Regions from separate parts of the Homo sapiens genome. Here all the other regions are linked to region 1. The links are contacts of gene promoters, found by promoter capture Hi-C in human tissues and cell types (Jung and others, 2019). All regions are on one chromosome and are shown on one strand. Each heading gives the region's core, a stretch centred on a gene start or on the middle of the fragment in contact. The rest is flanking DNA. Distances are from core to core; before and after follow the strand shown.

Region 1 (2,898 bases), core at 72-2,571:
TTTTCATTCCCTCTTTCTGTTCTATATACTTCCTAAAGCAGATTCTATTAACCAAGAACTGGGAATAAGCAAGCAAGCAAACAAACAACCTGTGATTTTGCAGAAATGACTGAAAACGGAAATTCACTTACTTCCTGTACTGCACCGGGGGCTTCGAAGTGATGAAAGGTCTAAGCAGGGTCTGTCCTCGACCCTCCCAGCACCAGACCGTCGGGTAGTACGTTTCTGTAACCACGGGACAGTGGTCTTGAAGGAAGCGGCTGAAACTCTCACCCCCGGTCACTAACTGGGGTTTCTGAAGGGAAAAGCAGTATCAGAGAAGGGCCCAGAGCAAAGTTTCTGCCAACCGTAAACCAGAAACCGGCAAAGACTTGTCGCTCGCGCGCGCGCTTCCTCCGATTACAACTCTTTCTGGAGGGCTGACGCAAAAAATTCACAGTCACAGAGGACTGAAACGGGGGTTTCGCCAATGCCCCGAGGGGAAGGCGAGAATCGCGATAAGGGAGTTTGTTTGTTTTTAACTCCGCCTCCCGGGTTCAGGGGATTCTCCTGCCTCAGCCTCCCGAGTAGCTGGGATTGCAGGCGTCCGCCACCACGCCCGGCTAATTTTTTGTAATTGTAACGGGGTTTCACCATTTTGGTCAGGCTGGTCTCGAACTCTTGACCTCAGGTGATCCACCCGCCTCGGGCTCCCAAAGTGCTGAGATTACAGGCGTGAGCCACCGTGCCCTGCCCGGAGTCATTTTCAAAAGCGCCACGGCGTTCCCGAGTGCGCCGCCGGCTTCGCGATCGGTGACCGGGCAGCGCCGCAGCGCAGAAGTCAGCCGGGTTCAGGCTGCGCTCCGAGGACCACCCGGCCGGGACCCCCAGGGGGCGGGCGAACGGGCGGGGCCTGTTGGCTTTCCCGCGCGCGCTGGGGGCTGCCGCTCGGGAGCAGCTCGCCGCCTATCCCCGGGGCTGCCGACCGCCCCTGGCCGCGCAGCCTCGCGCCGCGCCTGCTACCCTAGCTCCTGGCCCAGCAGCCCGCGGCCCTGCGCCACCCCCGGCTCACCTTGGCAATGCTGCTCAGGTAGTAGAAGGCATAAGCGACGCTGAAGCCCAGGATAAGGGATAAGCCCACCCCCGAGCCGAAGAACCCCACCCGGACTTGGTGTTCCAGGTAGAGGGAGAGCTCCCGGGACAACATCCGCAGGTCCATGGCCAGGCGCTGCATGGCCCCCGAGCGCGGCGCGCGGGTCCTGCGGCGGGAGGAGAGCCGGCTGGCGAGCGGGCGAGAGCGGGCGAGAGCGGACGCGGCGCCGCTGCCTACTCCCGACCACAGTGTCTCCTGCCTGGCGGAGCGCGGCTTCCGACAACGGGCGGGGCGGAGCGGCCCAGGGAGGCGTAGCCCGAGACTCCAACGCCGCCCGCTCCGCCCCGGCTTCCTGGAGCCGCCCCCACTGCCAGCCACTCAGGAACCTTCCAGAAGCGCGGTTCCAAGACCGGCCACCGGGAGGGCGGGCGGACTGGGTTCTCCCAGCTAGGTCGCAGTGGGCGATGGGGATCCCCAAGGGTGGGCCGAGAGCTGACGGATCGGCAGCGCTGGTTAAGGCCCCGCACCTGCAGCCCCAGTGACCTTGAACGATTCCGCTCTGCGGCGGGTGTCCCTAAACTAGCAGTTTAGGGTGTCAGGTAAGCGTGCCTTGCATTCAAAGATTTGGGGAGTTAATGCCAAAGATATGTTAGCAGGTAAGAATCCCACATCCTCTAGACGTTTGCGTTGGTCCTCAAGACTATGGAAAGAGAAAAAATATTCTATGAGCATTCAACAGTGAGGACATCATACTCGACTCTGAATCACTCTGTGAATCTTTTTAGTTGCTAAGTGTCACTTAAATGAGAAGTGGTCTCTGAAAATAAATGAAAAGGTCAAGAATAGCAACCGGGATTCAATTGTTAAAAGCCTATTTGTGGTTCATTAATGCTTTGAATTTAGAGACTTATGGAAATTCACACCGATTACCTAATGTACAGACAAGAAACCATTTATGAAGTAGGGTCTCCTAGGCTTATTTATGGCAATATGATAAATCAGGATACTTATGGTTATCTGAAATGGTTAGAATTTAATAGCCTATTCCTACTCTTATGAACTCCTTCCTCAGAGAGGTAGGAAGAATGGCAAGACTTAAACAGACGAAAGAAGGGAAAGTGCTGTCTAGATTATGAAAAATGCCAAAGGATTGTAAATTAATGATGTAATTTAGATGGGGACATGAGACGGACCAGAAGTGAGCAATTTATTTGGCTCCGATTTGGTCATTGCAACTTGGTGGTTGGCTGCAGCACCCAAAATAATTCAATTACCTTTACTGAGCCTGTTTTTTTCTTGTTTTAATAATCTGTAGCGTAACAATTTCTACTTTATAGAGTTCCCGAGAGGACAAGATAGTGTATATACTGGACTCCCCGTGAGCAGAAGTAATTTTCACGCTCTGGCTCTCACACCTGAGCACACATAGCAAACGTGAATGCATATGCTGGTTGCCATACTTGAAACTTCATAGCATTCTTCATAACCCCTGCACCAGCCTTCTGCACTACCTACCAATAAATGCATGCGTATTTCAGTTTAAGTTTGTTCTGTTTTGTTTTGTTTTGTTTTTTGAGACAGAGTTTTGCTCTTGTTGCCCAGGCTGGAGTGCAATGGCGAGATCTCGGGTCACTGCAACCTCCACCTCCCGGGTTCACGTGATTCTCCTGCCTCAGCCTCCCGAGTACCTGGGATTACAGGCATGCACAACCACACCCAGCTAATCTTGTATTTTCAGTAGAGACAGGGTTTCACCATGTTGACCAGGCTGGTCTGGAACTCCTGATCCACTCGCCTCGGCCTCCCAAAGTGCTGGTGAGAGGTGA
Region 2 (3,187 bases), core at 569-3,068, 140 kb after region 1:
TTCTAGTACTCCCATGTGTTAGAGGGATTTATGAGAAAAAGTCTTCTAGTAAAATTGCTGTTGTTAATGTTACATGTATTTTAAATTGTATTTATTTTTTATTGTATTATTATTATTTTTTAAAAATACGTCTTGCTGTGTTGCCCAGGTTGGGCTTAAACTCCTGGGCTCAAGCAATCCTCTTGCTTCATCCTCAGTAGCTGGGACTGTATGCATGTGCCACTGTGCCTGGCTCTATATTTAAAATTTAAATAGAATCTTCCTAAGACAGGCAACTTATACTCCATGAACAGGGTATATCTCACACAAACTGTAGCACCCTGCTCAGTGCCTGACAGGTGCACTCAGTATCAGTGGAGAATGAACAAATGAATGCACCAAGTCCTGGTGGAGTTTTCTCTAAAGATGATCATTTCACATTTGTCTCTTTTTCTGAAAGATATGTCAGTGATTTTAATTATTATTTATGACATAACTAATTTCCTTATGAGATTTTATAGATGTACAAAAAGGTACACATCTCATTGCTTTTTTAAATCTGAACAGTGCTGTGCAACTGTTGTTGCCCTTTGTACCTGGTTCTTGTCACTGAAATTTCAGTAGCTGTTCCTTAACCTTAGTGTTCCTTGCCTCTCTCATAATTTATGTGTAGTGATGAAATGTCATCTCTTTGGAATCTGTGCATAGAACTGTGTTATAGAGGAAATTAATATAGTGAGGTATATACATTTCTTTAAGTGTATTGTTAAGGAACATGAAATTCTATTACAAAAAGAGAATGCATCGGCCGGGCGTGGTGGCTCACACCTGTAATCTGAGCACTTTGGGAGGCCGAGGCAGGTGGATTGAGGTCAGGAGTTCAAGACCAGCCTGACTAACATGGTGAGACCCTGTCTCTACTAAAAATACAAAAACTAGCTGGGCGCATGCCTATAATCCCAGCTACTTGGGAGGCTGAGGCAGGAGAATTGCTTGAACCGGGAGGCGGAGGTTGCAGCAGTGAGCCGAGATCACACCACTGTACTCCAGCCTGGGCAACAAGAGCAAAATTCTGTCTCCAAAAAAAAAAATCTATAAATATAAAGATATAAGGCACTATAATTATTGCAGTAATAACTTTTAAACAATGGAGTCTAAGGTGGACCCTCTGTGTACGTGTTGTGTACGTGTTCGTGAGTTTCTGAAGATTGTGGTAGAAACAGGGCATCCCTTTTCTGTAGCTGTAGGTGGTCATATGTATTTCTGTTCCTTGTATCTGTGTTTACGGATGCAGTCTATCTTTCTGTAATATAATTTTATGTTCCTTAAGGATACACTTAAAAATGTCAAAACAGCAGCTGAAGTGTTAAATTTTCCAAAGTGCCCTATCTGTTGTGGACTCTGATGATGCTTTGTTCCGTCTTTAGTAAGGCAACTAACATGGGGGCTAGTGAGGATTTTTGTTTTATTCCTATGCCTTCCTCTGCTGGTTCTATATAGATACAACAGGTTCTGAGCAAAATTTTGTTTATGCTAAGTTTTTTTTTTAATTGCTGTTTTTTATTTCATTGTTAGAAGATTCACCCTTTTCCATTGGGTGAGTGAGTGTTCAGTTTGAAGTTTGAATTGTGTTAGAAGTATCTAAAGATGCAGAGACGCATATAAACACAAAAATTTAATGTTTCACATACAGATGTTAAAGCTTAATTTTTTAATATGACTAGTTTTTATGTATACTAATGATGCTCCAGGTATATTTTAAAACATTTTAATTAGTGAATTTGTAATAAGATAGGCTTGATTTGAAATACTTTCTTTTATTAGTGGTCAAGTGGGTTCTCGGAGTCCTTCTATGATTAGTAATGATTCTGAAACCTTAGAAGAGTGTATGGTGTGCTCAGATATGAAGAGAGATACTCTTTTTGGTCCATGTGGACATATTGCTACCTGTTCTTTATGTTCTCCACGTGTCAAGAAATGCCTCATCTGTAAAGAACAGGTTCAATCCAGGACAAAGGTAAGATATATTTAATATAGTATTTTGTCATTTTATGAAGTTGAGACTAGAATTAATGATAAATAAGATTTAATGACATCATGCGTCTGTGTAATTTTGCTCTTCCAAACAATGATTTAAATATAGGAATATATAATTTCTGCATTTATCAGATCAGAATTTCTTATTTTATTGCTTGTTTACAGTCTTGCTTATTAATGTACTGATTTGCTAAGTTAATTATTGTTTGAGTTTATTGATACACCATTTTTACTGTCAAATTTTTTTAGCTCTTAATGTGTTTCCTTCATTATATCTAAAGTATGGTAAAGTTAAAATTATCTACCATTTTGCTTTCAAAGCTCCCTATAACCTAAGGATACATTTACTTCCACTTTGGATTATAGTTACTTATATGTTGCACTTTTTTTGGAGTACAAAAACTGTTTTGCATTCATGTTTGTAAAATAATTCATTTTTTTGGTAGAATGTCACACATTCTAGATTTGATTGTTCTATCGTGGTGTTGTTTAACTTGCTATCTTCTGTGTTTCCTGTAAGCTGGAAGTTAGATGTAATAGTTTGATCAGGGTCAGCTTAACATTTTTGGCAAGAAAGCTTCACAGTTGGTGCCACACACTTTACATTATGTCCCATCTGGAGGCAAATAAAGTCTTGTCTCCCTGTAATTAGTGATGGCCAAAATCTATATCTACTCTGAACTTTTTCTCTCTCCTGACTCCTTTTGCTTTTTGAGAAGTATAGTTCTTTTCTGAGTAACTTAGTGCTTTATTATAACTGTACCAGATTACTAATTTTGGTTTACTGAAATAATTTATTTTTTAGTTTTTCAATACTCAAATGTGTGTGTGTATTGCATATAAAGTGAAATTTGAGTTTCTTACAAATGTTTCTCTCAAGGTGAATAGTTTAAACCAAAGAGCATGTTGGTTTTGAAGTAAAAACTCATGGAGTTTATACTCTTTTTCCATTCCCTTCTTTTTATAATCTTTATTTCTGTCTTGCTATTTATTTTTTCTTAAGCTATTCATTAACCATCATTAATAAGAAAGGAGCTGTTAGTAATTATCATAATGAATTAGCTGGCAGGGACTTAAAAGGTGTTGCCTTGCCCCTGCTTCTTCTACTTTCAACCTTCTAAGCCTGGATGGTTTTTATGATCCAAATTAATGTATCTTTCGTAGAATTTTT
Region 3 (3,030 bases), core at 176-2,675, 220 kb before region 1:
AAAGAAAGCTACAAACAAAAACAGATTCATGAACTCAAAAAGCTTATTTAATATCGTAGAGCTTCTGAGTTTAAGGATAAGCAACTTGTCACACTTCTCAAGATCCTCTGAGGGCATCCTTATGTCACATCCTAAAATAGCTATTCATTTTCATAGTGATGACTGACTCATCAAGAGGGGGCTACGTTAAATACTGTGGATCCTGTTAAAGGAAAGCATATATTCCATTTTTAAAGTAAAATTTGTTTGCAAAGATAAGCTTTTATGAGTTATCATTATGAAATGATGTCAGAAAAGTTAAGGTTTCTGTAACAGAGGAGTTTGTCAATCTCTAGAGCGTTCTGAGGAAAGCCTATTTATCTGTATAGAGAACTACTTCCAGCAGGGAAAAAGGCTGAGAATTGAGGCTGTCTGACCTTGTGTATCCCAACAAAAAAAAAAGAAAACAAACCATGTGCCTGAAGGAAGTGTGTCAACTTTCCACTAATCACATATTCAGTTCCTTTGAAATTAAAAGAAGTTTCACTTAGTGCCTCAGAGATGACTGCAGAGTTGGTGTCGGGTTACATAATGAAACAGTATTTTTTCTTACTTGTCAGGAAATAACCTCTTACAGCGGTCATTTCTGTAAACCCCACTTTCTGGAAAACAAGACACACTGTATCCTGTCCTCATTGGGTTTTTGCTCTGTATTTTGAACCAGGAGGACGTGGGCTGCGAGGAGAAGCTGTACTTTGGCTTGAGTGAGTACAGCAAGTCTCTGCAGTGGGGGATCACGAGCCCACTTCTGAGATGTGACGAGACTTTTGAAAAAATGGTGAACACACTCTTGGAGAGGTAAATAGTAAATAAGGCCTTCTGCTCTTCTCTCTAGCTGTACTTGCAGATCTAAAATAGCCAAAAGCCTTTTGTGTCAGTGCTACGGGGTGTTTGATGGAGCCCTTGCAGATGACGTGCAAAGGCCAAATTAAAACAGCCTTTCCTAAGATGCCCTACTATTGTTTTATGTGATCATCCAAGATCAATAAAGGAAAATACAACCAAAGTGGGCCATTGCACTACTTTTCATGCTGAGTCAGCTCCCGGTCATGCTTCACTGCTATCATCAGGAGATGGATAGGGCAGAGAGGGATTTGCTTATTCAAGACCCGCTTCTGGCTGGGCGCGGTGGCCCACGCCTGTAATCCCAGCACTTTGGGAGGCCGAGGCGGGCGGACCATGACATCAGGAGATCGAGACCACCCTGGCTAACACGGTGAAACCCCATCTCTACTAAAAATACGAAAAATTAGCCAGGCGTGGTGGCAGATGCCTGTAGTCCCAGCTACTTGGGAGGCTGAGGCAGGAGAATGGTGTGAACCCGGGAGGTGGAGCTTGCAGTGAGCCGAGACCACGCCACTGCACTCCAGCCTGGGTGACAGAGCGAGACTCCGTCTCAAAAAAAAAAAAAAAAAGTCCCACTTCTCTGAGCTCCGGCCTCTCCTACCCTACACCTCAGACTTTGACATTTTTCCCTCTTTTCTCCCCTGTCCACCACAGGCAAGGACCCTAAGATGATTCAGTAAAAACTAAACTTTACTATGAGAGATTTGAAGTATACACTGGAAGAAATTAAAGAGCAATCAGATAATTGAGGTGAATTCAGTTCTTGGGGCTCCTCCTCCAGTCCCTGGCCTTAGGGATTAAGGAACATAACTGCTGTCTTTTCTTCCCTTTTCTAAAAAAAGAAAAAAAAAATCCCCATTTTCAGATTAAACTCTGAAAGAGTTTTTTTCCCTCTGTGACCTTGAATCATAGATTCAGAGGTAGGTAGAGACATTAGAATTTACCTAACCTAATAAAGGTCCCTTTCTGCCCTCCACAATATTCTGTTTGATCATCCAATGTTGGGGCGATTGGGCTTTATTTTATGGGGCAAATTCTAATTTTTAGTAGCTATAGTTCTTAGAATGGCTTTAATTGATCATATTATTTAACAGCTATTTAACAAACCTGTCCATAATTTTGCTAAGAAAAAAGAAAAGGAAATTAAAATGAGGACCTATGGATGCATCCTATTCAGTAGATTATAATACTGCATCCGGAAAGAGCACAGGCTCAAGTACGGTTTGATATTTTTGCAGCTGTTGGATTTGGAAAGTCTTAACTGACACTGTGACATTAATCCTTTCACAGCACATGTAGTCTTAATTTTCCAAAATCATTCCATGAGTACCCCCTTTAAGCATTCCTACCCACCTGTTACATCCACCAGCTTGAAATGCATCTTCTTTTTCTGGTAACATCATTCAGAGTTTCCTAACTTTTATTTTAAATGATGATCTCATCAACTTTCTATTGTAGTTTTGTGCTACAAAAGTTGTAAGTATAGTTTAATGCAAGCATGACAGATTGGAGAAACTGTGCACTTCTGACTTCATGATTCTTCCAGAGTATGAAACAGAAATGCCAGATATCAAAGTTACCATTTATTCTAACTTTGGCTTTTCTACGTGGCCCAGCAAAAAGCATTAAGCTTGAAACATAGATTATCTATACTTATTTCCTCCAACCCAGTCACCCCAGCCTAATAGTAGCTATGACTTACTGAATACCTGAAGGGACCAGCCCAGGATTTATTGAACTGAAGGATTTCTTCATTTCTACCCAGCCAGCTAAATCCTTGCAATGTGTGAAGACCTTGCTAGAGGCTGGATAAAATCTAGAGCTAGCTTTGTCTCTGATCAGTTGTATGAACTGGGACAAGCAGCTGAACTTCTCTCTGCCCCTGAACTCATTCTCTTTCTATGAAAAGGCAGAGTGGGCTGGGCGCGGTGGCTCATGCCTGTAATCCCACCACTTTGGGAGGCCAAGGTGGGTGGATCACCTGAGGTCAGGAGTTCGAGACCAGCCTGGCCAACGTGGTAAAACCCTGTCTCTACTAAAAATACAAAAAAAAAAAAAAATTAGCCAGGCGTGGTGGCGGGCACCTGTAATCCCAGGTACTTGGGAGGTTGAGGCAGGAGAATCACTTGAACCTGGGAGGCGGAG
Region 4 (2,937 bases), core at 316-2,815, 160 kb before region 1:
GTCAGGAGATTGAGACCATCCTGGAAACCCCGAATCTACTAAAATACAAAAAATTATTGTATTTTTAGGCGGGTGTGGTGGCACGCGCCTGTAGTTCTGGCTACTCAGGAGGCTGAGGCAGGAGAATTGCTTGAACTCGGGAGGTGGAGGTTGCAGTGAGCTGAGTTCGCGCCATTGCACTCCAGCCTGGGTGACAGAGCGAGACACTGTCCCAAAAAAAAAAAAAAAAAAAGAAAGAAAGTAAATCTGAATCATATAGAGATCTGAATATAGGTAAACAATTTTTAGAAGATTTACAAGACATCACCTCTTTAAAAACAAATTTCTATTACTAATGTTACTTTATGAAAAAGCTTTTAAATTTATGAACCTATTTTTAATAAAATGAAAAGAGATTTTCACTTTAAAACATCGAAAAGACCTAAAAATGTAAGTAACCTCAAGTTATAAGAAAACCATTCTTCCTGAACTGAATCATCTAAAGACAGTTCCATAAACTATTTTCCTATTAAATGCCTTTGAAAACAGTAATACTGGTTTCATGTCATTATATTGCATTATAGACATTAGACAAATTATTTTGCTTTACTAATTTTTGAGTGCAAAACTTTCTCTTGAAACAACTTCAGACTTGTATGTTCATGCCGAAATTTTTATCACAATTCCATTTGATATAATTTTATGTTTTAAATAGTACCTTTTTTTCATGTACTAAATAAAAGCCCTTTAAGAAGCAAAGGCTGCAAAAGGATACTTAGTATTGCTTAGATTTCTAATGTTCATGAAAACAGCAAGTTTTATTTATTAATGTAATTTACTTATTTGAGACAGAGTCTCACTCTGTCACCCAGGCTGGAGTGCAGTGGCAAGATCACAGCTCACAGCAGCTTCAAACTCCTGGGGCTCAAGCAATCCTCTTGCTTCAGCCTCCCAAGTAGCTGGGACTACAGGCGTGCACCACCATGCCAAGCTAAGAAAGCATATTTCAGTGAAAACTTTTAAGTAACTCTAGAGTAAAAGTTCAGGGTTTAGATCCTTGTTCTTGGTAGTTACTAGATGCATGGCCTTAGGCAAATCACTGGAACTCTGATTCTGTTTCCTGATCTTAGCATTCTAAAAAATGGCTATCATCACCTCCATCACTTGGGTAGGTACGAGGGTGCTGTATTTAAGATGACTGCTCAAAGAGTAGCCACTAAGTAACTCTTAGCAACTTCCATTCTCCCTTCTTACTAGTATCAAACTAAGATCAATGCACTAATCTAACAAAACAGTCAATCAATAAATGTTCCCAAGGGTAAATACAGCAATAAATTCAAATCATAGGCAAATAAAAGATGAAAGAAACAAGTTAGCTAATATTTGTTCAAATAACATACTCAAGACATATCTATGCCTCAACTACAGTTAACTGCTAGTCACAATAACCACATGACCCTCCTTACTTCAGAGAAACTTAGAGGCGATAAAGTCCATCCAATGCTTAAAATTAAGGCAGAGGAGAAGCAGGGTTCAGGAAAGAGTGCATGCAATTTAGAAGAATAATCAAATAGCCACAACGTTTTTGCAAAGAAATAAATTCCAATGCAGTGCACTTACACTTCTGACCTTTAGCTCCAACATATTTCAGGACTAGTATGTTACACATAACCCTCTGCTAACAAGTAGTATTTTCCAAAACCCATTTTTTCTTACTTCATCCATTTCTGCTTCATGAAAAGCAGAAAACTTTATATTCCTAATTTGTATTTCTAACAGCAAGAAATTATTATTATTTTATTTATTTTTTTTTTTGAGACAGTTTCAATCTTGTTGCCCAGGCTGGAGTGCAATGGCGCAATCTCGGCTCACTGCAACCTCCGCCTCCCGGGTTCAAGCAATTCTCCTGCCTCAGCCTCCCGAGTAGTTGGGATCACAGGCATGTGCCACCACGCCGAGCTGATTTTTTTTGTATTTTTAGTAGAAACAGGGTTTCTCCATGTTGGTCAGGCTGGTTTCGAACTCCCGACCTCAGGTGATCCGCCAGCCTTGGCCTTCCAAAGTGTTGGGATTAAGAAATTATTACTCTTTTCTCCTTGCTATTGGAGTTACTCTAAACTGTACAGTCTAAAGAATGGATTTCTCCTTTTTCCATCAAAAAAAGGATTACAATTGGAAACAAAATACACTGAGTGGTAAATACACTGAGTATATACAATGATCAAAATTCAAACCAAACACTTAAGATGTGTAGATTTAATTGTATAAATAATACCCCGACTTTAAAAGTTCACATTAATCACAATTTCATGAAAAGGTTGAATGAGAATATACATTTGAAGGAATATTTGAAGAAATAAAACCAACAACCAGCTTTTCAAAAAATAAACAAATATTACAAGGGAAAAAAACAGAACCAGGGAGAACTTTGGGATTAAAAGATACTAAAGGGACATAACAACCAATGTAATATATAAACCCTAATTCAAACAAATAAGCAACATAGGAAATCATGAGCTATTTGGGAAGCTTTGAACTCTGATAGAAAACTTGATTTCAACAATTAATTCATTTATTGAAGGTGTAGTTATATTCTTTAAGGTACTTTTATGTTTAAAAAAGGAATAATCTTTGGCCAAGCGCAGTGGCTCACACCTGCAATCCCAGCACTTTGAGAGGCTGAGGAAGGCGGATCACAAGGTCAGGAGATCGAGACCATCCTGGCTAACACGGTGAAACCCTGTCTCTACTAAAAATACAAAAAAATTAGCTGGGTGTGGTGGTGCACGCCTGTAGTCCCAGCTACTTGGGAGGCTGAGGCAGGAGAATTGCTTGAACCCAGGGGACAGAGGTTGCAGTGAGCCGAGATCGCGCCACTGCACTCCAGCCTGGGCGACAGAGCGAGACTCCAACTCAAAACAAACAAAAAAGGAGTAATCTTCATCTTTAAGCAATACA

The links. The method cuts DNA at HindIII sites, captures the fragments that hold promoters and counts their contacts. A contact is called where the count stands out against the background at its distance.
Region 2: a fragment that was not itself captured here is called in contact with the fragment with the promoter of ABHD3 in region 1 in 1 of the 25 tissues and cell types used here (heart right ventricle).
Region 3: a contact is called between a fragment that was not itself captured here and the fragment with the promoter of ABHD3 in region 1, in 2 of the 25 tissues and cell types used here (heart right ventricle and pancreas).
Region 4: a fragment that was not itself captured here is called in contact with the fragment with the promoter of ABHD3 in region 1 in 2 of the 25 tissues and cell types used here (aorta and lymphoblastoid cells).

The regions. Positions count from the first base shown.
Region 1 is chr18:21,703,453-21,706,350 of GRCh38, forward strand. ABHD3 (abhydrolase domain containing 3, phospholipase) reads right to left here and starts at 1,322. Exons shown (of 9, transcript NM_138340.5): 1 at 1,052-1,322; 2 at 132-295. The coding sequence starts at 1,213. It also overlaps a transcript of MIB1 not described here. RefSeq lists enhancers at 50-199, 1,660-1,729 and a silencer at 720-1,489. The HindIII fragment of the contact is 17,143 bases long and covers 1-2,898 here.
Region 2 is chr18:21,847,393-21,850,579 of GRCh38, forward strand. It overlaps MIB1 (MIB E3 ubiquitin protein ligase 1), which reads left to right. Exons shown (of 21, transcript NM_020774.4): 17 at 1,804-1,996. Among named protein-coding and RNA genes, the nearest start is that of MIR133A1HG, 18 kb to the left of the region's middle. The HindIII fragment of the contact is 5,232 bases long and covers 1-3,187 here.
Region 3 is chr18:21,484,917-21,487,946 of GRCh38, forward strand. GREB1L (GREB1 like retinoic acid receptor coactivator) reads left to right here. Exons shown (of 33, transcript NM_001142966.3): 18 at 704-837. Among named protein-coding and RNA genes, the nearest start is that of GREB1L-AS1, 35 kb to the left of the region's middle. The HindIII fragment of the contact is 4,406 bases long and covers 1-3,030 here.
Region 4 is chr18:21,541,380-21,544,316 of GRCh38, forward strand. All of the region lies in intron 8 of ESCO1 (establishment of sister chromatid cohesion N-acetyltransferase 1), which reads right to left. Among named protein-coding and RNA genes, the nearest start is that of ESCO1, 58 kb to the right of the region's middle. The HindIII fragment of the contact is 5,589 bases long and covers 1-2,937 here.